6 separate regions of the Homo sapiens genome follow, and regions 1, 3, 4, 5 and 6 are each linked to region 2. Evidence: promoter capture Hi-C in 16 types of primary human blood cells and fetal thymus (Javierre and others, 2016). All regions are on one chromosome and are shown on one strand. Each heading gives the region's core, a stretch centred on a gene start or on the middle of the fragment in contact. The rest is flanking DNA. Distances are from core to core; before and after follow the strand shown.

Region 1 (3,864 bases), core at 1,100-3,599, 660 kb after region 2:
TCCTCCGGGGCTCAGTTCCAGGCCTGCCTATTGTGTTTTATGCATCGGTGTTCTCCTTCCGTCTTGGAAGGAGTGGGAAGGAGAACATCCTCGGGATATCCAGTGGGAGGCCCTCAACCTGCTGGAGCCCAGATTTCTTCCTGTCTCTCCCAGAGCCAGAGGAAGCCAGCTGGGCTTCCTTCCTGTCTCTCAGGTTGATCTTTCTATTTTCCAGGGTGGCCCATTTACCTTGTAGTCACCACATTTGGGGGCATTGAGAGAATGCTTAGAACTTTTTTTTTTTTAACCTCCTTTGCCAGCTTGACCTCTGGTTGGTGGAGAAGAGTAAGCGCCATGCTGAGCTAGAATACTCTGATTTTTTTAACTTGGCCTCCTTGTCTGCAGCTCTAGGATGCAGTCCCTTTTCCCTTGCTTGGAGGCAGTTGGGAAGGTTTTTGCTGACTTTTGTCCTCATCTGTTGGAGAGAAGATTTGTGATCCAGCGTCACTCTCCTCGTATCATTATCCCATTTCATTTAACATCAAAGCCCTCACTAGTCAGAACTGGGCCGCACGCGTGTATATTTAGAAGTGCCTGACATCCTTCCAGGGCTGCATTCTCCTGCATTATCATATCAATTGGAGCCCTGCTCCTGTGCAGGTGAGGTGGGGCTGGGGGTTATCTTGCAAGATCAGAGACATAAGAACTTTATTTTGTGCTATATATAAAATCTCAGTTAGGAAATTAAATTCTGCACGGGGGAAAGATGTCAAGGTTGCTTTGATCACATGGAAAAGCAGCAGAGGCGCAGCAAGAGAGAGATAACCAAAGGAGGAAGCTTGCAGGCGCCTCCTCCCAGGCCAGCTGCAGGATGTGGGCAGGAGAGTCTGGGCTCTCAGTCCCGGTGGAGACAGGCCCTGTGTGCAGTGAGTGCTGCAGGAGATGGTCTGCTTACAAGCATGTGCTTCCTGTCATCAGTGCAAGCTGTTAAGTGTGAGAAAAAATGACCGGCAGTGAAGCAGAAACTCACTAAAAGTATTAATAGCCGGTGGCTGTCACCACTTGCTTGCTGTCCTTTACACCAACACTCCCCTAGCCCTCTCCCAAATGCCCAGGCTCATTTACTCCACTATGCAGGACCCCACAGGATGCTGCGGTGTGTTCCGCTTCTCCTCTGGTCTGAACTGTACCTGCACACAGGGCAAGTCCCAAGGGAACCAGAAGCCACCTGGAACAGGAAGCAAATAATAGCACCATCACCACCACCAGGATAGCTGACATCAATTACTGATTGTCTACTAGGAGTCAAGAACTGTGTTATTGTTTTACAGACATTATTTCCTATAAGTTGATCTCATAGTACAGATACAGAAATGGAAGAAAAAAAGATGTTAGGCTATGTATACACATCATATGGCTAGAAAATGCCAGAGAACTTTTTCCTAAGTTTGTTTCTGAAATGCAACATATATTAACTTTTTCCATCTCTTCACCTGACCCCCAAAGATAAAAAGACCTAGAAATCAATCCCACAGTCAGTCTGGGTGGAGTCCGTTTCCCTGTGACGGGAAAGCATATTAACGGGAAAGCATATTAAAGCTGAGGTCCTGCAATTCAACCCACATCCCTGACCCTCGGCCCTGGAGACTCTGGGGGGCAGTGAGCTGTGCACCCCAAAGAGACAGAGCTCCGGAGGCCGAGGCGGGCGGATCACGAGGTCAAGAGATCGAGACCATCCTGGCTAACACGGTGAAACCCCGTGTCTACTAAAAAATACAAAAAAAATTAGCCGGGCGTGGTGGCGGGCGCCTGTAATCCCAGCTACTGAGGAGGCTGAGGCAGGAGAATGGCGGGAACCCGGGAGGCGGAGCTTGCAGTGAGCCGAGATTGCTCCACTGCACTCCAGCCTGGGCGACAGAGAGAGACTCCGTCTCAAAAAAAAAAAAAAAAAGGAGACAGAGCTCCTCTGCTTCCAGCAAACCTCCCTTTTTCTCTCCAAAAATACACATGCATGCCTTTTTTCCTGCTTCCACTGCTGACTTAGTCATTTATTCATTCGGTCAATATTAACCGAGAGTCAAAAAGTCCCAGCCGCGCTCAGGATGCAGCAGAGAGAAAAGCGAAGACCCCTGCCCTCATGGAGCACGCCCTCTAGTGGGGAGAGACGGAAAACAACAAAGATAAATAAGGAGTATTCCAGGATTTATCATGGTTAAGTCTCAAGCAGAAAAATCAAGCAGGAAAATGGAAAAAGAGACTTCACATTGGCCTCTTGTCTGTCCTCACCCGGCAGCTTTCCCAGTGTCGAGGACCCCTCTGAAAACTTTTTTTCGGAACTGGCTGTTTAGGTTTCATATATACCCTGCTAGTGCCAGAAGATTTTAACCATCTCCGGGGCTGTGCCTTGTGTCGATTATGCATGACCATGGATAATCCAACAGCTCTGTGCCCCGGTAGGAGCTCCCTGGAAGAGTGTTGGCTGATGGTGTGACAGCAACTGTAACTCTGCATAAAAGTTGCAGGGGCTCCTTGCCTACGGAGGACGCATGGATGCCCCATCCTGTGGGCTGTGGGGAGAGAAGAGCAGGGACAGGAGAACTAGCATGTCCCACGGGACCACCTGCCAGGCAGTGGCGGTGGACGTGTTTTCTGAGACAAGCCTCACTCCCGTGGTTAAATAGGGGCTATCTACATTTTCAGAAACTCATAGACGTGAGGAGGTGCACCTGCCCGAGGTTCTAAAACTATGGAGCTGAAGACCTGAGATCCAAAGTCCAGCCTGCCTGATGTCATTCTTTGAGGCTCGAAAACAAAGTGAGTCATCTCTGAAATCAAATTACTTGAATTTGAGCAAATCTTATATATTAAAACTTGTGGCAATCACTGCATGATTTATTATAGGACTAGTAAATGAACCACAGCAACACCAAAAATAGAGATGAAAAAAGGGGCAAAAGAGTCATGCAGAAGATGGTTGGATACATTGAGATCTGGCATTGAGCTCCAATTATGCTGAACTGACAGCTGGGAGGTGTCCAGGCTGTCAGATGTGTTCTCTCCCACTCTCTAGTGTACAGCTGGGGCCCATGTGTGACACTTAGCAGGAGGCCCTTTTTCCAGTCCCTTCACAGAGATGGAATGACGCTGTCAGGAGGGCTGGGCAGCTGCTAGCACTGGATGGAGAGAGAAACGAGGAGAAACTTCCAGTTTATGGTGTGTGGGTGTGGTGTGGATGGGGCAGGTGCAGACCAATCTTTCTGAAAAACACTTGGTGATACATACGAAGAGCTTTAAAAAACTATCTTTTGGCCAGGTGCGGTGGCTCATGCTTATAGTCCCAGCACTTGGAAGGCTGAGGCTAGCAGATCACCTGAGGACAGGAGTTCAAGACCACCCTGGCCAACATCATGAAACCCCGTCCCTACTAAAAAAATACAAAAATTAGCCGGGCATGGTGGCACGCGCCTGTAATCCCAGCTACTCAGGAGGCTGAGGCAGGGAGAATTGCTCCAACCTGGGAGACAGAAGTTGCAGCGAGCCGAGATCGCGCCACTGCACTCCAGCCTGGGCAACAGAGTGAGACTCCATCTTAAAACAAAAACAAAAACAAAAAACAGCTGCCTTTTGATTGAGTAATTACTTTGGTAGGAATTTATCCTTAAGCTGTAATGAGGAATATGGATATTACATAAAGGAGTTTCTTGAAGCAGTATGAAGAATAGAAAAAGAATGGAAACAAACAGCCTGCCCATTGTTCAGGGATGGCGAGACACAACCACAAGTAGTGGATGATGCAGACATAAAAATGATGTGCATAAGGAATTTTTAATTTTGGGAAAATGCTTATAATATGCTGTGAAGTGAAAAAAAGAGGAGGACATGCAA
Region 2 (3,771 bases), core at 255-2,754:
TGTTGATTCTATACAGTTTTTGCTCAGACAGGAAGGGATAAAAATGAATTTCGAACAGAAAGGGGTAGAGACTCTTTTCCCATTGTATTCTGCTGAAGTTATTTCCCCCAAAATAAGTTGAGAACTATAGTGTAGAGAAAAGAAACCTCAAGAACAGGGCGACTGAGCACAAGAGAGAAAAAACAAAAAACAAAAAAACAAAAAAACTGCAACTTGCTCCCAGGGACTGGAGAAAATGTAAAAAAAGGAAGGTTGGAATCCATCAGTGTTTTTTTGCTGTTGTTGTTGCTGTTTTTTTTTTTTTTGAGATGGAGTCTCCCTCTCTCGCCCAGGCTGGAGTGCAGTGATGCGATCTCTGCTCACTGCAAGCAACCTCCGCCTCCCGGGTTCACGCCATTCTCCTGCCTCAGCCTCCATCCTCAGCGTGAGCCACCGCGCCCGGCCTCCATCAGTGTTCCATTAGTCATCTCCTTCATCCTCCTCTCCTTCCTCCCCTTCATCATGTTGGCTCATGTTTATTTATTAAAATTATTTTGGGCCGGGCGCAGTGGGTCACGCCTGTAATCCCAGCACTTGGGAGGCCGAGGCGGGTGGATCATCTGAGGTCAGCAGTTCGAGACCAGCCTGGCCAACAGGGTGAAACCCTGTCTCTACTAAAAATACAAAAATTAGCCAGGCGCGGTGGCGCACGCCTGTAATCCCAGCTACTGGGGAGGCTGAGGTGGGAGAATCGCTTGAATGCGGGTCGGGGGGTTGGGGGGTGGGGGGCGCGGGCGGGGGCGCGGAGGTTGCAGTGAGCCGAGATCGCGCCACTGCATTCCAGCCTGGGAGACAGAGCGAGACTCCAACTCCAAAAAAATATTTTTGGCTTTTCATTCACTTTGACTTAATATACTTAAAAATATACCCTCCAAAGAGGTATTCATTTTTGGGTGGGTTAAATGCTACCTATTCCAAAACAATTTTAAACTGGTTTATATTAGTTAAAAAAAAAATACTAAAAGGACAAAGTAGTCCCTGTAGACTAAGCTGCCGCTGTCCGAATAAGAAAGCTCAAGCGGCTCATAAAATTTAAAAAGTCTTCCTTTCATCATGCCTCCTGGAAGGTAGCTATCAAAATTTTAGGGTTTAGTATAAAGTCTAAGATGCTCAGAAACATTAAGACAATTGTCCTTACTGTGCCACCGAAAGGCTAAAGGGAGTAAGCTTTTAACAAAGGTTTAAGGGAGTAAGTCCCAGAGTCCAAACTGGATTTCACCGACTGACTGTTGAAGCTTTCGGGTCTCAGCTGTTGGCCCAACGAACCTTCCCAAGACCTTGAAGACCGGCAGCCTACCCGCCACCCTGAAAGGCGGAAGTGAGGAGAGAGGCAGGACTCCCCCCTCCCCAACCCTCGGAGATGAGAGGGCGACCGCGCGACGCTCTGGGCTGCTAGGTCTCGACTCGGTATCCGGAAGTCCTCCAGCGTTCGCCTGCAGGAAGCGGAAGTAAAAGGGCGGCCGGCAGCTGGGCAATTGCTTTGCGAGGCTGGGTGTTGAGTCGAGCCGCGGGAAAGGCGCGTGTCGGCCTCTCACTGGCGCAGCCTGCACTGCCGCTGCCGCCTCGCCCCGCCCTGCCCTGGCGTTGTCTCTGGCACTGTGGCGGACTGACCACGGCCCGGGCATGGGCTGCAAGGGAGACGCGAGCGGTGCGTGTGCCGCGGGTGCGCTGCCGGTGACAGGTACCCAGGGGTGGCGTGAGGAGGCCTCGTGGACAAAGAGAGGGTTTGGGGCACAAGGCGACCCTGTGCCCCTGTCACATTGAGCTTCCGCCTCTACCGTGACTCAGTTTACCCTCTGGTGTCCTATCCCTTCCCCTATTCGCGAGCGCCCCGAGTTGCCCTCAGTGGTCTTCTTGGCAAGGTATCGCTTCCGCGGGGGTGGCGGCGGGCTCTGTTCAGCGGTCTTGAACCTTCTTTGAAGAGCTTTAGATCCTTGTGCCAAGTGCAGAAGGAAATGGGGGAGGTATCCTACCATGGATTTAGACCAAGCTTGATCCTCAGTGAGTTGAGAAGCAGCACTTTGCAGGACCCTGATTGCAGAACGACGTGCTTTTTAAAATAGATTTCAATTTTTCCTAAAATGAATTCGGGTTGATGCGTATTGGTTACTGTTTTCTTTTAACACTGTGATCTGTTGGCTGGAAATTGGATGATATGGTTTCACTTTTAGCGTGGGACCTGCCAGAATGAGATCTGCGTCCGTCGCCAATAACTTATAGATGTGAACTGTTTTTGTTCCTTGGCCAGAATCTGCAGTTGTTTTGCATTTCTTGCCAGATTTGAGAAGGAGCAATTTTGTTCGTTTGAAGTCCTGGGGTCTTTTGCCTTATTGTGCTACACTAACTGTTTTGGAAACATTCATTGATGTACTTGCCAGCCAATTTTAGTGTAAAGTGCCCTCTTTCCTTCAAGAATCTTACACTTGCAGGCGTTTGAAGACATTTTAAATAGCTATTTAACAGCACCACAAAACTTGGAATAATTGTAGCCTTTTCACTTTGCTTTTTTTTTTTTTAAGCCAGTCGAATTTAGCAACACTTGACTTGCTTTTGATAAACTTAGCTGAAGCTTATTTTAAAAAAATTCTTATTTATTTATTTATTTATTTATTTTGTAGAGATGAGGTCTTGTTACCTACCAGTCTGATCTTGAACTCCTGGCCACATGAAACTTATTAAAGGAAGTGACCATAATACTTTGTACAGTAGCATAGCACATTTATAATGCACATTGAACTTCAGGGGAATATATGAAAGTAAGAAGAAAATTTGCTTAGAACTTTCCTGCAGCTGTCTGTGAGCATTTTCTTTTTTTATCTAAGTTTCCCTGTAACAATACAAGATGATGTGATAATTTTCTTTCTTTCTTTCTTTTTTTTTTTTTTTTTGAGATGGAGTTTCACTCTTGTTACCCAGGCTGGAGTGCAATGGTGCAAGAGATAGTGTTTTAATTTATTTTTTTATTTTTTGTTGGTGAGGCAGAGTCTTGCTCTGTTGCCCAGGTTAGAGAATAGTGACATGATCTTGCTAGCTGCAGCCTCCACCTCCTGGGCTCAGGTGGTCCTCCTACCTCAGCCTCCTACGGATGGTTGTTGATAGTTGGGCCTAGAACTTGTTAAAGAGTGTTTTCTGTTTATTCATCATGCCGCAAGTATAATGCTTATCATGCAAAGCCACATGGCACATTCTGTTGGCCATTATCTCAGACTGTTTGTCTTTATAAGCAACATTTAAGAACCCCTAGGGTCAGAATGATAAGGGATCCTATAAAATGAAGACATACTCAAAGCAGAGACCACTTCAGTGAGATTCTTACGTCTGCTTCTCTGGACAGTCTTTTCCTCTGGTTTTACCTGTAGAGTTAAGAATGTGGGGTCAGAGTGGCAAAGCTCTTTTTTAATGTATAGCTTTCCTCCTTTTTTCATCTCAAATGGTGCTGCATCTCTCCCCAAGAACACGTACTCTCTCTCCTTTTTGAAAACAGTGTAGGGGGATCTCGAGGCAGGCCACAGGTTCATAGGATTTTCATTTTACCTATCTTGCAGTCCTAGGCATTTTATAGCATCTTCACTCTTGGTGCCACACTCCTTTCCTGTTGTTTCCATTCATGCCTTAATGAATGAGGCCTGTGTTTATTTCATTTTGAGAGCCTTCTATGTTTCAGGCATAATGCTAGGCGTGGAGACCATGATAGACAAAACACCCTGCTCTTGAGGAGCTCCCATCGGTCCC
Region 3 (3,825 bases), core at 679-3,178, 580 kb before region 2:
TAGATTTTTTCTTTTTTAAAAGGCGAATTTTCTCATACATACTTCTGTTTTGTAAAAATATAACTCTAGGCTGGACAAGGTGGCTCACACCTTTTGGGAGGCCGAGGTGGTGGATCACCTGAGGTCAGGAGTTCGAGACCAGCCCGGCCAACATGGTGAAACCCTGTCTCTATTAAAAATACAAAAATTAGCTGGGCGTGGTGGTGGACACCTGTAATCCCAGCTACTAGGGAGGCTGAGGCAGGAGAATCACTTGAACCTGGGAGGCGGAGGTTGCAGTGAGCTGAGATTGCACCATCGCACTCCAGCCTGGGTGACAGAGTGAGACTGTCAAAAATAAAAATAAATAAATAAAAATAAATAACTCTATTTTTCAAAGAAATACAAGCAAACATGTAACCAAGTTCTTTTACACAGGAACATTCTTGGGTTTTATAAGGTTAAGATTATTTAAGGGAAAAGAACTATAAAATTTAATTTTATTTAAAGGGTCAAATAACATATGGGCACCTTCTCCCAAGATAATTTAAGCAAACAAAGAAAGGAGAAGTTAACATTTCCTAAGTACCCACTAAGAGCCAATACCACAACAGGCTCTCTCCTGTTAGTTCATTTACTCCTCATAATGGTACTTCTCATGATAACAAAATTGAGGCTTACAGTAGTCACGGTCCTGTGTCTAGTAACCCTAGAAACAAGAAAGCTTAAGTTTTAGGGAGAACATGATTCATCTAACTATACCAACACATAATGTTACTTGAAATAATTACTCTGAAAACATGCCCTGGGGTACAAACTTGATATGTGCATATTATAGCTATGGCTTTAAAATGCAGAGAAAAATATACAAAATTAAACATGCCAAAATACTAACAAGTATTTTAGGATCCGGTGAATTTTTTCTCCCATCTGGTAGCTCAACTTTAAATAACATGGCAATAATATTCTAGCTTAAAAAGTGAAAGTATTTCCGTGTTTGAGTATACCCTCTTAAAAATTTACTGAGCCAAATATTTCTTGTTAGATATATGACTTAAGCTATGTGAACCTACCACAGACCAATTTTCAAGGACCAAAGAGCCTTTAATAATATATATGCCCAACATCATGCTATGAAACAGTTAAGTGACAAGATTATTCTTGTCAATGACAAGATAAATGGCTTGAAAATGTTCTCATAAAACCCAAACTTTTACTAACCCAAGTATGCTGTGTCTACAAATTCAAAAAGAATATGAAAAATTATAAAATAGCCTACAAAGCCAATGTTTGAAGAGTTTTTAAATATTTTATCACCATTATGACAGCACAGCATTGCAAAGAGTCATTGCTATACACAGTCACTGAAATATAGCACATTCAGGTAAGTTTCCAAAATCATACACTTTTCAAAATTCCTAAATACATTTTTCTTGAGTTCTCACTGGGCACTCAACACAGTACTGTATTAGATTCCTTGTCAGTCACAAGCTCTATTATCCCACTGAAACAGGCACTTATCTATTAAAACGGTATTAGGACTTGAGAGATATCATAGAATCTTACAATTACCGTACAATAGTCTGTATGTTGCCTAAAGTTTACTTTAGCCACACTTCATAATTTAAAAGAATGCAGATGGAAAATTTAACTATCTAGATTGTAAGCTCTAGGAAGGCAGACATATTTTGGTTTGTTTTCCTGAGGTATCCTCAGAGTGCAGAATGGTCTCCAGAACATACACACACTAGGTAGAGTTCGAGCATTCCTAATCTGAAAATTCAGACAACTCCAAAATCTGAAACTTCTTGAGCACTGACATGACACCACAAGTGGAAAATTCCACACATAAGCACCCAACACAAACTTTGTTTCATGTGAAAAATTATTTAAAATAATGTGTAAAATTACCTTCCAGCTATGTATATAAGACACATGAATTTCGTGTTTAGACTTGGGTTCCATCGCCAAAATAGCTCACTCTGTATAAGTAAATATTCCAAAACTCGAAAAAATTCTAAATCCAAAACACTTCTGATTTGAAGCATTTTGGATAAGGGATACTCAACGTGTATTTGTTAAATGAGTAATAAAGGCCTTAAGTGGGAATAACATAAGGTGAGGAAAAATTAATCCAACAAGAATGTATTTCATGTCTACTACGTGCAAGACACCAAGAATCCAGGCGGAGTATGTCACAGGGCCTGACCTTAAGAGCTGCTGTCTGATGAGGAGCCAGCCAAGCATACTGTAACAGTATAGTGTGACATGCACTATTCACAAAGTATGTATATGATATTTCAAAAGTGTACTGGAAGTGCATCTATATGAAACTGAGCTGCAAAAAAAAGGTGTGCAGACAACAGGCATGTTTGCATGCAGTTTGTGATGGCTGAGTTAAGACGGGAGGGTGGGGAGAGGCATACAGTACCAGCAGAGGCAATTAAAGCAGGAGGCAAAAAGGAAAATTATAATTGGCTTTTGGAATGCTCTCCATGATATATCCATCACATAACTCTAACACCATTTCTATGTGTGACTTGATTTATTTTAGTTGAAACTACAGAAATCATCTCTAGCTAAGTCCAGAAAAAAAGAACAATCTTCTCAGGATCAAAGTCAGTTGAATGACTAAACACTTGGGAAGGTTAAGTACCAACGCAGCACAGAGAGCTTAGAAAAGGGAACTCAAGGATCATTTTACTAGAGTACCATCAGTAACATGACTCAGCTATACCCTGTCTAGAACCTAAATTATAAATCCCCAAGAGAGATGACTTAACTGGCCAAGGCAATATTAGAAACTGTGACTCAATCAGTTACAGCTGGATCGGGGCACAGCACTGGGAGTCACTCCCAAAGAAGTGAGAGACACTGGGCAGTCATCCAAAACTCACCCGCTACACTCTACCCCAGATTTCCTGACACATGGTGTAGCATTCCAAAACAAACCCTTACAAGGACACTGCATAAGACAATGATTGTAAAATTTAGGAATCCTCATGAATTTTTTATGAGTTTCACGAAAACATAGCATTATGTATGGCATGACAGGGCAAAAAAGGGGAGAAATCACTACAGTAAAGAAGTACTAGTTTAATAGACTCGAGCTAAAGAATACACTTAGACAACACCACCACAGAATTTGGGACGAGTATGCTGGAAATTATACAGTTAAGCTTAAAAGTTATCAAAACAATATCCAAAGTTTTTAGAGTGGTTTTGGCAATTAAATTGCAAGCTTAAAAAAAATCCAAAAGACAGTTTTTTAAAAGTCAGATGAGTACAACAAACCAACAGTTGAAACTGACATTTAATGTCATTTCTAAAATAATGTAACACATTTCCTAGTTGTAATGGTAAAAGAAATTGAGCACTCAGAAGGTCCTTAGATGCTTTAGAAACATCTATAATGCCGCCGGGCGCAGTGGCTCACGCCTGTAATCCCAGCACTTTGGGAGGCCGAGGTGGGCAGATCACGAGGTCAGGAGATTGAGACCATCCTGCCTAACATGGTGAAACCCTGTCTCTACGAAAAATGCAAAAAATTAGCTGAGTGTGGTGGCGCACTCCTGTAGTCCCAGCTACTTGAGAGGCTGAGGCAGGAGAATCACTTGAACCCAGGAAGCGGAGGTTGCAGTGAGCCAAGATCGTGCCACTGCACTCCAGCCTATGTGACAGAGCAACACTCCATCTCAAAAAAAAAAAAAAAAAAAAAAAAGCCATCGATAATGCCTCATACCTCCTTCTTAGCCATCATTCACACTGCAGTTATAAATCACTGGTTATCCATCATAATAAACAATCTTGTTTATCTCAGTCTACAAAGAATAACCACACTTCTTA
Region 4 (3,772 bases), core at 290-2,789, 640 kb after region 2:
AGAGTGTGGCATGTGCAAATGTCCTGAGACTGGGACAATGATATGTCTGAGGAACAGAAAGCAGGCCCTAGGACTGGAAGAGTTCTGTGAGACGAGATGGGGAGGTGGGCAGAGAGGGCTGGGAGGGCCTGTCCAAGCTCGCGTAGACCATGAGAGGAAGCATTTTTGGGTAGAGAACAGGTTGCAGGGCAAAAGTGGAAGCAGGGAGGCTGGTGAGAATGTGATCACATTTGCAAAGTTGAAAAGAAAAGCTGGAAAGAATATTGGATAGATTACATCTATTTTGATATAGATATATTTTGAAGGTGGAGGTGACAGGATTAGCTGTTGAGTTGAATGTGGAATAAGAAAACGTGGCTACAAGATTGACTCTAGAATCTTTGCCTTCAGTTACTAGTTGAATGTTGACATCATTTATTAAATTGGGGAAAGCAGAGAGGCCAGGTGCTGGAGGCAGGGGGATTGAGGTGTTTGTTAGAAATCCAAATAAAGAGGTCAAGTCTGCAGGTGGATTAGTGAGGCCGGTGTTAAAGAGTGGGAATCTGAGCAGATAAATAGGCTGTGGAGCCAGAAGTTACCCAAGTCTTTGCGATATTACAGGCTGTAAGATTGAATGCAAACACTGTAGAGAGAGAGAGAAGAAAACAGGTCTGAGGTTTGAGCCCTGGGTACTGAGGTTTGAGCCCTGGGCACTCTCAGCTCAAGGTCTGGGTGGTGAAGAGGAGCCAAGAGAGACTCAGAAGGAGCCTGGGTGGGAGGAGGCTATTCTGAGACTGATTCATGTGGGCTGAAAGGGAACTGATATAATCCAAGATAAATGCCACAGCACGGCACAAGTCTGGAATAAGATGCTAAGGAAGGCAAAAGATCAGAAGGAGCTCATAAATGAAAAAACAACTGTTAAAAATATTTTTTGAAGGATTTTGTAAGTTTTGTTGACAGAGTCCAACTGTTGATGGCATATGGTGTAATGTTAAAAGGTGACAGAGAGAAAGTACAATGTCTCACTTTCTGTTTTACTGCCATGATTTTTCTAAAAAAACTAAACCTACAAAATGGAAAGGGTGGATGCAACATGGTTAGGAGGCAGGAGACCCAGCCTAAGGGAGAAGGCAAAAGAAAGCATTAGCAGGGCTGAGCACAGGGCAGATCGTGGCCCAGCATATAAACATCAAAAGGATCATGAAGCCCATTGCTAACCTATGATAAAGCTTGGAGTGATGGAGAGTCCAGAAAATGTCAAGAGGATTCATATTGCACAAATCTTTAAGAAGGTAAAATATATTTTAGAAATTAGAGATCCGAGAGTTGGGTGGTTTCTAGTGAAATTAAATAAATGGCTGTGATAACGTAGTAGGAACCGACAGGAGTTTCTTGAGGTTAAGGGGTGCCAGATTCAGCTTGTTTCTTTTTCTGAATGACCAGTCTGTGACCACTGACATGTGTGGAGCTCAGACTTCTGGTCAAGGTATTAAACCAAATAGAGCTGAATACTTATCATTGCCTGTTGCTCCAAGCAACTGGCTGGTCATTGGTGTTATTTGCTATAACAAGAAAGACTGACAGAACCAGGTTGTGGCTGGGGGAGAAACTGAGATGTCTGTTAGACGTTTTAGTGGACATGTCAGCTTACTACCTTGACTAGAAGTCTGAGCTCATTTATCCATGATAGATGCAATGAAGCAATTAAGAAAAAAGCCCAGTTTCAATGTAAGAAAGAGAAATAACTAGAAGCAATCAACAAAGAAGGAATGCAAAGCCATGACAGAGAGCCAGCGTTGAAGCTGCAGAGCCCTCAGGGGCTGGATCCACTCCTTATGGCAGGGATTTTGTTCTGTGTAAAGATGGACATCGAGGGCTCCATGTGAAAGCTTGGGTGGAGAAGGACTGTGTAGGCCAGGGCTGGGGCACAGGAAGGAGCTTGCCCCTGCAGACTGTGGCAGGGGGAGTTTCCCATGTAAAACTGAAACCCCAGCCTCTGTCACAAAAAGATGTGGGGCTCCAAGTCACACTGCCTATGCCATAGTGTCAAAATAAACAAACAAAAAATGATAATTATTGTAGAATTTGGCCTCATGGCACTTGTCCAATTTGAAATAAGAATATATGGAGACAGAACTCCAAGCAAAAGGGATTTATTTGGGAATGAACAAAGAAATAGGATTGAGATCTCAGACATATGCATAGACTGGGATGGTCTCTGGCATGTCTGGAGAACAAAGGAAAATTAAGGTTTTACTGGGGAGAGAAGAGGTGATGCAAGTTGTTTTGAAAGTTCATTGTCAAGTATCAGTAGCTGCTAGGTGGGACTCAGCATCTTGGAGTTACGGTTAGGCCTTTGTATTTTTGGACTGACCTTGTGAGAGTTGCAAAACAGGCCAGCGTGCCTCTAGAAGTGGCTAGCTGTTCTTGTGCTGCTAGCTTTTCTTGTGTGACTCATGTAGTAAGCTGTGGTTTGGAAACAATTTTTGAGGTGGATCCTATCATCAGATAAATTATGAGTGAGAGTCCTCCCTTCATGGCCTTCCCTGGCTCTATTTTGCTATGGTTTGAAAGAGTGACTCCACTTTGATTCTGACAACTTTCACACATTTTAGGGCTCTGGCAGATGCAATGTTAAGTCCCCTACAAGGACATACCCACAGCTCACGGCACATCCTGGATTGTTACAGAAGGTAAGTCTTGTTGAAGATGAGCTCACAGACAAAATCTCAGAGTAAATGGGGAAACCTAACACTATGAAAGAGAATCAGCAGATGGAAGAAATGGGAATATTTACTCCTGTGGAACTAGCAGCCATAGAGTAAGTGTATTTAAATGATAAATGAGACAAAAAAAAAAAAAAAAGGAGAGAATCTACAGGTACTAGAGAAAGCCACTATGCAAAAGGACCAAATAATTCAAGAAACTAAATAGTCATTGAAATTAAAGGAAAACAATGTCTTTAATAGATAAATAATACAATAGTCCAAATACAACTGACAACTGAAGATAAAATTAGTGAATAGGAAGAAAGAGTTAATCTATCAAAATTCTTTATGGAACAAATAAGAGAAAGATAATTTGAGAGGTGCAGAGGCTAAAATCAGAATCTCAAATACATATCTAATAGAAATTCTTGAAGCAATAATTAGTGAGATTGAGAATGTGACAGTATTTGAAGAAGTTAGACACAAGTCTTGATATTAAAGGAGTACATCAAATATTAAATAGAAAAATTAAAAATAAACTTATCTAGAAGCATCATCATGCAACTTTAGAACATAAAATAAAAAGTCAAAATTTTTAAAGCTATGATAAAAGAAAGACATTAAACACAATGGAAAAGTTTCAGAGTGGCACCTACTCTATCAGACACAAAAGTCTCCAGAAGACAACAGAATAAAATGTTTAAGACGCAAAGGGAAATAATTGTTAACAATAATGCTATATCCAAGTAAACTGTCATCTAGGGAAAGATTTCCATACATACAAAGACTGATAATTTGCCACACATAGATCTTTTCTGAAAGAAGTATTTAAGGATGTGCTTCAGCAAGAAGATCATTGAATGTGGAAAGAAGTATGAGAATGCAAGGAGCAGTATTCAGTGATCAAAGAAGTATGTATGTAAATCCAAATAAGATTGATGGGAAATAATGATTTTTTTTCATGGCTTTAAGTACAACACATAAATACTAAACAAGACTAATTGGGGAATGAAAGGGGGTACATTTAAAAGATAGTGAAAGCATACTGATTCCGTTTTCAGGAGAGAGAAAGCAAATTAGAA
Region 5 (3,551 bases), core at 1-2,500, 700 kb before region 2:
TAGGGAAAACTAAACTGTATCTGTCTATGTGTTTAGAATTTATCCCATTAAAGAAACTGCCCAGTTAGTCTCATTTTCTAAACGTATTTATTTTTTGCAAGACGAGAAATACAGTCTTACAAAAAGACATCTGCATATTCGAACCAAGCCTTCCTGGATTACTACCTTCATGACCTTGGACAAATGCCTTAATCTCTCTGAGCCTCAAGTTTTCACCTGCAAAATGGGGCAATTTACCCACCTCATTGAGCTGGGAAGATGAAGAGAGATAATGCATGACAACTGCCGGGCGCAGACTAAGAGCACCCTAAGTGCTACCTAAATATTCCGTAAAGAGAAAAGGGGGAAACAACCTTACATCAAAAGATTACCACACTGTGACAGTGCAAAGACAAGCACTTTTTCGCTTACTGCATGTACCATTTCTGCTTCATCCCAAGACCAGATGCAACCTTTCTTCTAAAATCTCTGCAGGGTACGTGTCTGACAGCTAACACAGCCCAGCAGCCTACTTCGCGCTGACCTGGGCTTTAGGACTGGATGCAGGGGGCCCAAGGTCCGCCCTCCCGCAGCTAGGCAATCACCCAGCGAAATCTCCGCCCCTGGAGCGGCGCTTAGGCCGCCGCCAGCCCCCCTCCCGGCGCCCAGCCCGCGGCCCCCGACACACACGCGCGCACACACACACACACACACACACAAGCGCGCGCGCACGCACACACGCACGTACCGGCTGCTCCGCAGGGACGTAGAGAGCCGCAGGCCCAAGGAGGGGCCGCCCCCGCCGAGCCCGCCCCTCCGCCCCAGCGCGGCCTGTCACCGCGGCCCCAGGTCGGGGGCTGCCGCAGGGCCCCCGGGGACCGGAGGGGCGCGCGAGGAGTCGGGCGCGGGCCTTGGGGCCAGGCCCGTCCCTCTTTCACATGAAGCCCGGGCCGGGCGGGGTGGCGGGCGCGTGAATCCTCGCAGCCGGCCGGGTCCTCCTGGCGCTCCTCGGCACTTCTAGCCGCTGCAACCCCGAGGCCCGCGGGAACTGGGCAGGAAAGGAGGAAGCCGCGGGCCCGCGTCGCTAGAGACCGGAGAAGAGGCGGGAGTGGCGACTCTGCGGACAGGGGCGCCGAGCGTCCTGGTCGTTGTTTTCGTCGCCGCCGCGGGCCGTGCAACCCCCGAACGCTGCGCCCAGCGGCCGCGGCACCCTCGTCAGGCGCCGCCGCTGAGGGCAGGCAGCCCGGCAGCCACTACACACGGACCCGTGACGTCGGGCGTAGCGCGGCGCACGTCACGGCCGCTCGCTCGTGCGCGCGCACCCCTCCGCCCGGCGGTAGCGGAACCCGCCGCGGGCGCGCGCCCGGCCCAGGGGAGTGGGTCGGCGCCTGCGCAGAGGCCCGCCACGCCCACACACAGGCCACCGCCCCCACCGGCCGGACGGCGCGGGGATTCCCAGTCCTGGCTCCGCCCCGGCCTCGGCCCCGCCCCCGCCCCTGCCCCGGGGCAGCCTGTGCTGTTCCGTGTGCGCGGCGCATACGCACCTGGGTTGTCTCGAGCCTGCGGTAGTGGCCAGATCCCAGACATCCGAGTAGATCCCGTGAAAAGGTCTCCCACGTGGGCTGTGGACAGGGCCCAAGGGTAGCAGAGCTAGCAGAGGCAGTGACGGACTGTGTGGCAGGTCATTTGCAAGGAGAAAAGCCGTCTGCCTCTTAATTTGTGGCTCAAGTTTCAGAATTTTTTTCCTGAGGGACTTTAGAAATTACTTCAGGCTTGCCACCTAACCTTAAACCACCCCCTTGGAGACTGGCTAAGTGTTATTTGTGTTTTCTGTTTAGTTCTTATCACCATCGATACTTGGTTATGACTGGTTGTGTACATTGGTTAGCCCAGCAAGTATTACTTCTCCAGCTTAACAGATGTGGAAACTTAAGCCCAGAGACATGAGTTGACACCCCACCCCCAAAGCTAGAGTCTAAAACCCTTTCTTTCGCTCCTCATCTCCCACAGGATAAAATGCAAATTAATCAGACTAGTGGTGAGGCCCTCCGTGGTGTGACTAACCTGCATCCCGACGTTTTCACCCTACTTTGATCCAGAAAGCACCTTTCCGCCCCATCTCTTCTCCTTTCCTTAAATACCCCTTACAACTTCCTGTACCATTCTTCCCTGTTCAGCTTCTTCTTGGTTTCTTCGTACATTCTGGATCCACCCCTTTCATGCATATTCCAGACCACATTTCCACTGGAGCAGTTGAAATGAGAGAGATGGGAATGGGACTCACCCGAACCAGAGGTAAGGAGCTACCCAACTTGGGCTCTGAGGGTCAAGGGAGCTGGCACTTGTGGGGCAGAGACTGAGGGAGAAACTGTTGTGTAATGTCAAAATATCTCTGGGTTTCTTCCAGGAATTTTTATTACAGACCCATTAACAGAGGTGTCAAAGTCACAGGAACAAGGATGTGCACCTCAGAAACACAGAGGTCAGTGGAAAATCAGTTTGCTTCTATTTGTTTAAAAAATGGGGGACTTATGCATAAATCTAAGACCTTCTTGAATCTAACATTCTAAGACCTGTATGCCACAGAAAGGAGGGTCTCAGAACGCCGGAGGATAGTATTTAAATCTTAAATATCTATATTGTTCTCCACAGTTACTGGGTCACCACATAGCAGGCATTCAATAAAAACGTGTTTGTTTACTAAGTAATCTAGAGATAAATTTTTTCCCCTCATAGTGCTGCTCATTTCTCCACTCCCTTCCCTCACTTACCACCCCGGGGACTTCATTCACCTCTGGGTTCCTCAGAAACATCCCGTGGGTATAGTTATAGTAGCTATTCTTTCTTTTTCGCCATTCTCCTTTTATATTGGTGACTTTTCCTCTTGCTTAGATATTAAATCTCTGACATCTTTGGTTATTTTAGTATATATGATTACAAATTAGTGATATTGGGATTTTTTTATTGATGAAACCATCATTCAATGAATATTTTTTTGCCTTCCTACTCTGTGCCTGGGATTGCAGTGATAAAATTATATAGTCCCCACTGCCCAGGAACTCAGAATCCTGTGAGGAAGGCAGACAGGTAAATGGATAATGATAACACACTGTGACCTGCATCATGGGAGGGATGTGTATCAGGCACCACAGCAGCAAGAGGAAGATGTCACAGGTGTGTCTGGGGAAGTGAGAGATGACTTCAGAGAGGAAATGTGGCATGTTCCTTTTCTGTTGCTGCATAACAAACTGCCACAAACTTAGTGACTTAAAACAGTGTCTGTTTTTTAGCTCCCAGTTATACAGATCAGAAGTTTGCACAGGGGCAAGGCTGAGTTCTCTACTCAGGGTATATTGCAAGGCTGAAATCAAGGTATCAGCTGGGCTGACTTTTTATCTAGAGGCCCTTGCAAAGATCTTCCAAGCTCATTCTTCTTTGGGGCACAATTCAGTTTCCTGTGGTTGTAGGATTGACATCCCTATTTCCTGGGCCTGCCTTCAGTTCCTAGAGGTCACCTGCATTCCTTGCCACATGACCCCTTCCATCTTGAAAGCCAGCGACAGAGACCTTCT
Region 6 (3,859 bases), core at 760-3,259, 680 kb before region 2:
TAATATAACAGCAGTATTTAAACAGATATTACTAATATTTAATCAAAAATAACAATGACGGGCTGGGCGTGGTGGCTCATGCCTGTAATCCTAGCACTTTGGGAGGCCGAAGCGGGCCGATCACTTGAGGTCAGGAGTTTGAGACCAGCCTGGCCAACATGGTGAAACCCTGTCTCTACTAAAAAAACAAAAATTAGTCGCCCGTGGTGGCACCCACCTGTAGTCCCAGGTACTCAGCAGGCTGAGGCAAGAGGATTGCTTGAACCTGGGAGGTAGAGGTTGCAGTGAGCCAAGATCACGCCACCGCACTCCAGCCTGGGCAAGAGTGAGACTCCGTCTACAAAAAAAAAGACATTTTGGTCCTATGATATAGTAGGATATTTTGACTCTTTTTATTTCCTTGCCTGCAGCCTTTAGTAGGAAGTTCTTCCTTGATGTAGTGATGAAACTGAATATAGTTAAATGGAAAATCCTTTGACTTGCAGCTCTGCTCTTAGAGAGCCCTCAGTACACTGACTCCTGAGGTCAGTCCAATGTGATGGCCTCAAGCTGCTATCTCAACAAAAGCGTTTGAGAATGGAATACTTAGGATTGTACCTACAAGCAACGGCAGGGTTTTAGATTTGTAGGGATTCGTTTCCAGCTGTCCAAAGATGTCCATTCACTTTGCATCTGCAGGCTGGTTTTGGTAAACCAGCAGTTTGTCATCTTTTGCATCTATCATGTAGGATATCCATGGCTAAGATATCCATCCTTTTTGAACTTTTTTTTTTTTTTTGAGTTGGAGTCTTACTCTGTCGCCCTGGCTGGAGTACAGTGGCGTGATCTCGGCTCACTGCAACCTCAACTACCCAGGTTCAAGTGATCCTCCGGCCTCAGCCTCCCAAGTAGCTGGGAGTACAGGCGCGTGCCACCACGCCTGGCTAATTTTTGTATTTTTAGTAGAGACAGGGTTCGCCATGTTGGCCAGGTTGGTCTCGAACTCCTGACCTCAGCTGATCCACCCACCTCGGCCTCCCAAAGTGCTGGAATTATAGGCGTGAGCAATGGCACCCGGCCCTTTTTGAACATTTCTGAGCACACTGGATGTCACTGTAAGTTAAACCTCTCTCTGTCTCTCTCCTTCTCTGTCTGTGTTTCTCTCAGGAAAAATAGTTTTAAAGCACAAAGATACTTTGAACTTGTGAAGTTGAAGTTGAAGTTGAATTCCAAATAAGTTACAGTTTTAGTAAAGAAGTGAGAAAGTCTTGTTTAAATTGGCTGTCCTTTTCTGGTGACATTTTGGTTTCGTTTCCAAAAAATGAGTCATTTTTCATTATATGAGCTTTGTCAGTACCTACCTATAACATCGACAACTCAGGGACAGTCAGTTCATGCTTTTCCAGAGCCCTTATGGGCTCCTCAAAGATCATCAGGCAGTTTTGGAGGAAGAACTTATAAATTTCAGTTTGACTGTTTAACCATAATCTTTTTCTCTATTTTCATTCTTAATATATTTCCAAATTAGACAAGGACATTCTTCTTGTCCCATGCTTTGAAAATATGGTTGTATGGCAGGCTGCCTTTTTACCCTGGCAACAGTGACAGCCCTCGTGTAGGCACATGTCCAAAGGAGGCCATCTCCTTCCATTTCTGGAATGTGAAAAATCTCATTAAGTGCTTTTTCATGCTTTGAGGAAACTGAAAAGTAAATAAAAGCTTTCATTTTGAAAGCATCAATATCACAGGGAAGGAAACTCCACCCCTTTTTACTGATGTGTACAAAATGTGCAGGACACTTCGTGGCTAATATTTTTAACTTTTCTTTGGTAAAGCGTTCATAGACTGCATGGAATTTGCAAAAATTTACATTTGCACGGTCTGCCAAATAGGCAGACAGATGGGCAAAGTCATGTTTGTATTTGGACAAGATAGCATCAACATTCTTTTTTTTTTTCTGCAGGTGGATTAAAATCTTCATAGAAATAAAAAGGATGATTTGAAACTCCATTTTTTCAAATCAAAGTATTTACAAGTTAGGAGAACTGTTTTTCATTGCCATGATTGGATGCAGCACTTGGTTACTGTAGAAAGCATGATTGTTGGTGGGATCTGGCAGAATCCGCTGCATGTTGTAAAGGGTCAACACAGCTGCCATCGACATTTCTCCCTTTGTTCACCCACGTGATATTTCAGTTACAGCCTGTAAATGAGGAAATGTGCCCCTACTCAGTTTCAAAAAACAATCAAAGGAGCAGCACAATCACACAAATTCATTTTTGTAGTTTGCCCTAGCTAATTCAGCAGCCACTATTTTCAATTGGTGTCTTTTGTGGAGACAAAAAGCTTTTTGGTTAATGTGGACATACTTGCCTATCTCACTGAGGACTTGTGAGGCAGTCTCTACAGTCCCTTCTTCCACCATGCCCAACCCCGAATTCTCTCTGCTTATTGCGCAGTATCCCTTGTTTTGATTCTTTACCTCCCTCATCCAGTTGTCTGTGTCACTCCTCCTGTCGTTAAAATAACATGGCCATTTGGGTCACGCGGGCATTGATATTGCAACACCATTTCCTCATTTTCATCACCTGAATGCTTAAGAAAACATGGCCTCAGTAGTCACCATGCTAAAATTAAACTAGCAGTGTCTCAATACAAAGCACAACAATTAATCCGCAGGCAAAGTGGATGGTCACGTTCAAGATTATAGCGCGCTTAAGTTACATCACAAGGAGTGACATAATAATGGATGATCCACTATGGTGTACTACAAATCATGGTGGTTGTCCTCAGCAACAGACACTAAGGAAGGTGATGTGCCCATTTGGCACTAAAACCAGTGTTGCCTTCGGCCTCTGTTTCTGGGGTTGCCATGTGGGTTTTATACCTTTCCCCTAATCTCCTGTATCAATCACTGAAAACCTCGACTTTTCTCTTCCCAAGGGAGAGTTTACTTCCCTTTAACTTTTTGGCTTCTTCTTTAGGACTTTTAGTGTTAAAAATGGTACAATCCCAGACAAATGGGATAGTTGATCATCTTATCATGTTTATAGAATCAAGAAATAATGTCTCAATTTAAAAAGTCAATTGTATTTATAAACACTAGCAACAAACAATTGTAAGTTCAAATTTTTAAAATGCCACTTACAATAACATTTTTAAAACATGAAATAAGTAGGGATAAATTTAACAAAATATGTTCAAGACCTATACCTGAAAACAATTAAACATTGGAGAGAGAAATTAACAAAGAGCTGAATAAATGTAGAGAAATACCATGCTAATAGATGAGAAGACTCAACATTAAGATGTCTTTTATTCCTAAATTGTTCTATAGATTCAATTCAATCCAAATCAAGATTTCACCAGGAATTTTTTTTTTAGAAATTGAGAAATTGGTTCTAAAATTTATATAGAAGTAGAAAGGACCTAGAATAGCCAAAACAATTTTGAAAAATAAGAACAAAGTTGGAGGACTTACACTACTTGATTTCATGAGTTACTTGAATCTTGTAATAGCAATTAAGACATTATAATGTTGGCATAAAAATGAAAGATAGATTAACAGAACAAAATAGAGTCCAGAAGTAGATGTATGCATATACGGTCAATTGATTTCAACAAAGCACCAAAGCAATTCAATGGGAGAAAGGATAGTGTTTGCAAGAAATGGGACTGTGACAACTAGATCTCCATATATTTTAAAGAATGATTCTTGGCCCCTACCTCACACCATATACCAAAATTAACGAATTCAAAATGGGTCAGAGATGTAAATGTAAGAGTGAAAAACCATAAAGCTTCTAGAAGAAAACATAAGAGAAAGCCTTTGTGACCTTGAATAAGGCAGTGTTCTTTGGTAGGACACAAAAGCACGAAT

The links. Contacts are between HindIII fragments. The CHiCAGO score rates a contact against its expected background, and 5 or more counts as called.
Region 1: a contact is called between a fragment that was not itself captured here and the fragment with the promoter of UGGT1 in region 2, in 1 of 17 cell types (fetal thymus). The highest score is 5.5, in fetal thymus.
Region 3: a contact is called between a fragment that was not itself captured here and the fragment with the promoter of UGGT1 in region 2, in 7 of 17 cell types (total CD8 T cells, naive B cells, total B cells and 4 more). The highest score is 6.8, in total CD8 T cells.
Region 4: a fragment that was not itself captured here is called in contact with the fragment with the promoter of UGGT1 in region 2 in 1 of 17 cell types (fetal thymus); the score reaches 5.3 in fetal thymus.
Region 5: the fragment with the promoter of MAP3K2 here is called in contact with the fragment with the promoter of UGGT1 in region 2 in 7 of 17 cell types (naive CD4 T cells, total B cells, naive CD8 T cells and 4 more); the score reaches 9.5 in naive CD4 T cells.
Region 6: a contact is called between a fragment that was not itself captured here and the fragment with the promoter of UGGT1 in region 2, in 2 of 17 cell types (activated CD4 T cells and naive CD4 T cells). The highest score is 5.6, in activated CD4 T cells.

What each region holds. Positions count from the first base shown.
Region 1 is chr2:128,753,457-128,757,320 of GRCh38, forward strand. No RefSeq gene overlaps it. Among named protein-coding and RNA genes, the nearest start is that of HS6ST1, 440 kb to the left of the region's middle. RefSeq lists an enhancer at 1,134-1,333. The HindIII fragment of the contact is 3,069 bases long and covers 816-3,864 here.
Region 2 is chr2:128,089,696-128,093,466 of GRCh38, forward strand. UGGT1 (UDP-glucose glycoprotein glucosyltransferase 1) reads left to right here and starts at 1,505. Exons shown (of 41, transcript NM_020120.4): 1 at 1,505-1,720. The coding sequence starts at 1,663. RefSeq lists an enhancer at 1,267-1,576. The HindIII fragment of the contact is 755 bases long and covers 1,273-2,027 here.
Region 3 is chr2:127,506,032-127,509,856 of GRCh38, forward strand. All of the region lies in intron 2 of IWS1 (interacts with SUPT6H, CTD assembly factor 1), which reads right to left. Among named protein-coding and RNA genes, the nearest start is that of IWS1, 19 kb to the right of the region's middle. The HindIII fragment of the contact is 2,455 bases long and covers 702-3,156 here.
Region 4 is chr2:128,725,678-128,729,449 of GRCh38, forward strand. No RefSeq gene overlaps it. Among named protein-coding and RNA genes, the nearest start is that of HS6ST1, 410 kb to the left of the region's middle. The HindIII fragment of the contact is 660 bases long and covers 1,210-1,869 here.
Region 5 is chr2:127,386,725-127,390,275 of GRCh38, forward strand. MAP3K2 (mitogen-activated protein kinase kinase kinase 2) reads right to left here and starts at 1,251. Exons shown (of 17, transcript NM_001371910.2): 1 at 728-1,251. MAP3K2-DT (MAP3K2 divergent transcript) reads left to right here and starts at 714. Exons shown (of 4, transcript NR_187129.1): 1 at 714-828; 2 at 2,157-2,274; 3 at 2,387-2,461. RefSeq lists a silencer at 671-1,540. The HindIII fragment of the contact is 12,520 bases long and covers 1-3,551 here.
Region 6 is chr2:127,409,631-127,413,489 of GRCh38, forward strand. It overlaps LOC124908047 (translation initiation factor IF-2-like), which reads right to left and starts at 724. Exons shown (of 3, transcript XM_047446883.1): 1 at 666-724. The coding sequence starts at 724. RefSeq lists enhancers at 1,195-1,394, 1,535-1,584. The HindIII fragment of the contact is 627 bases long and covers 1,697-2,323 here.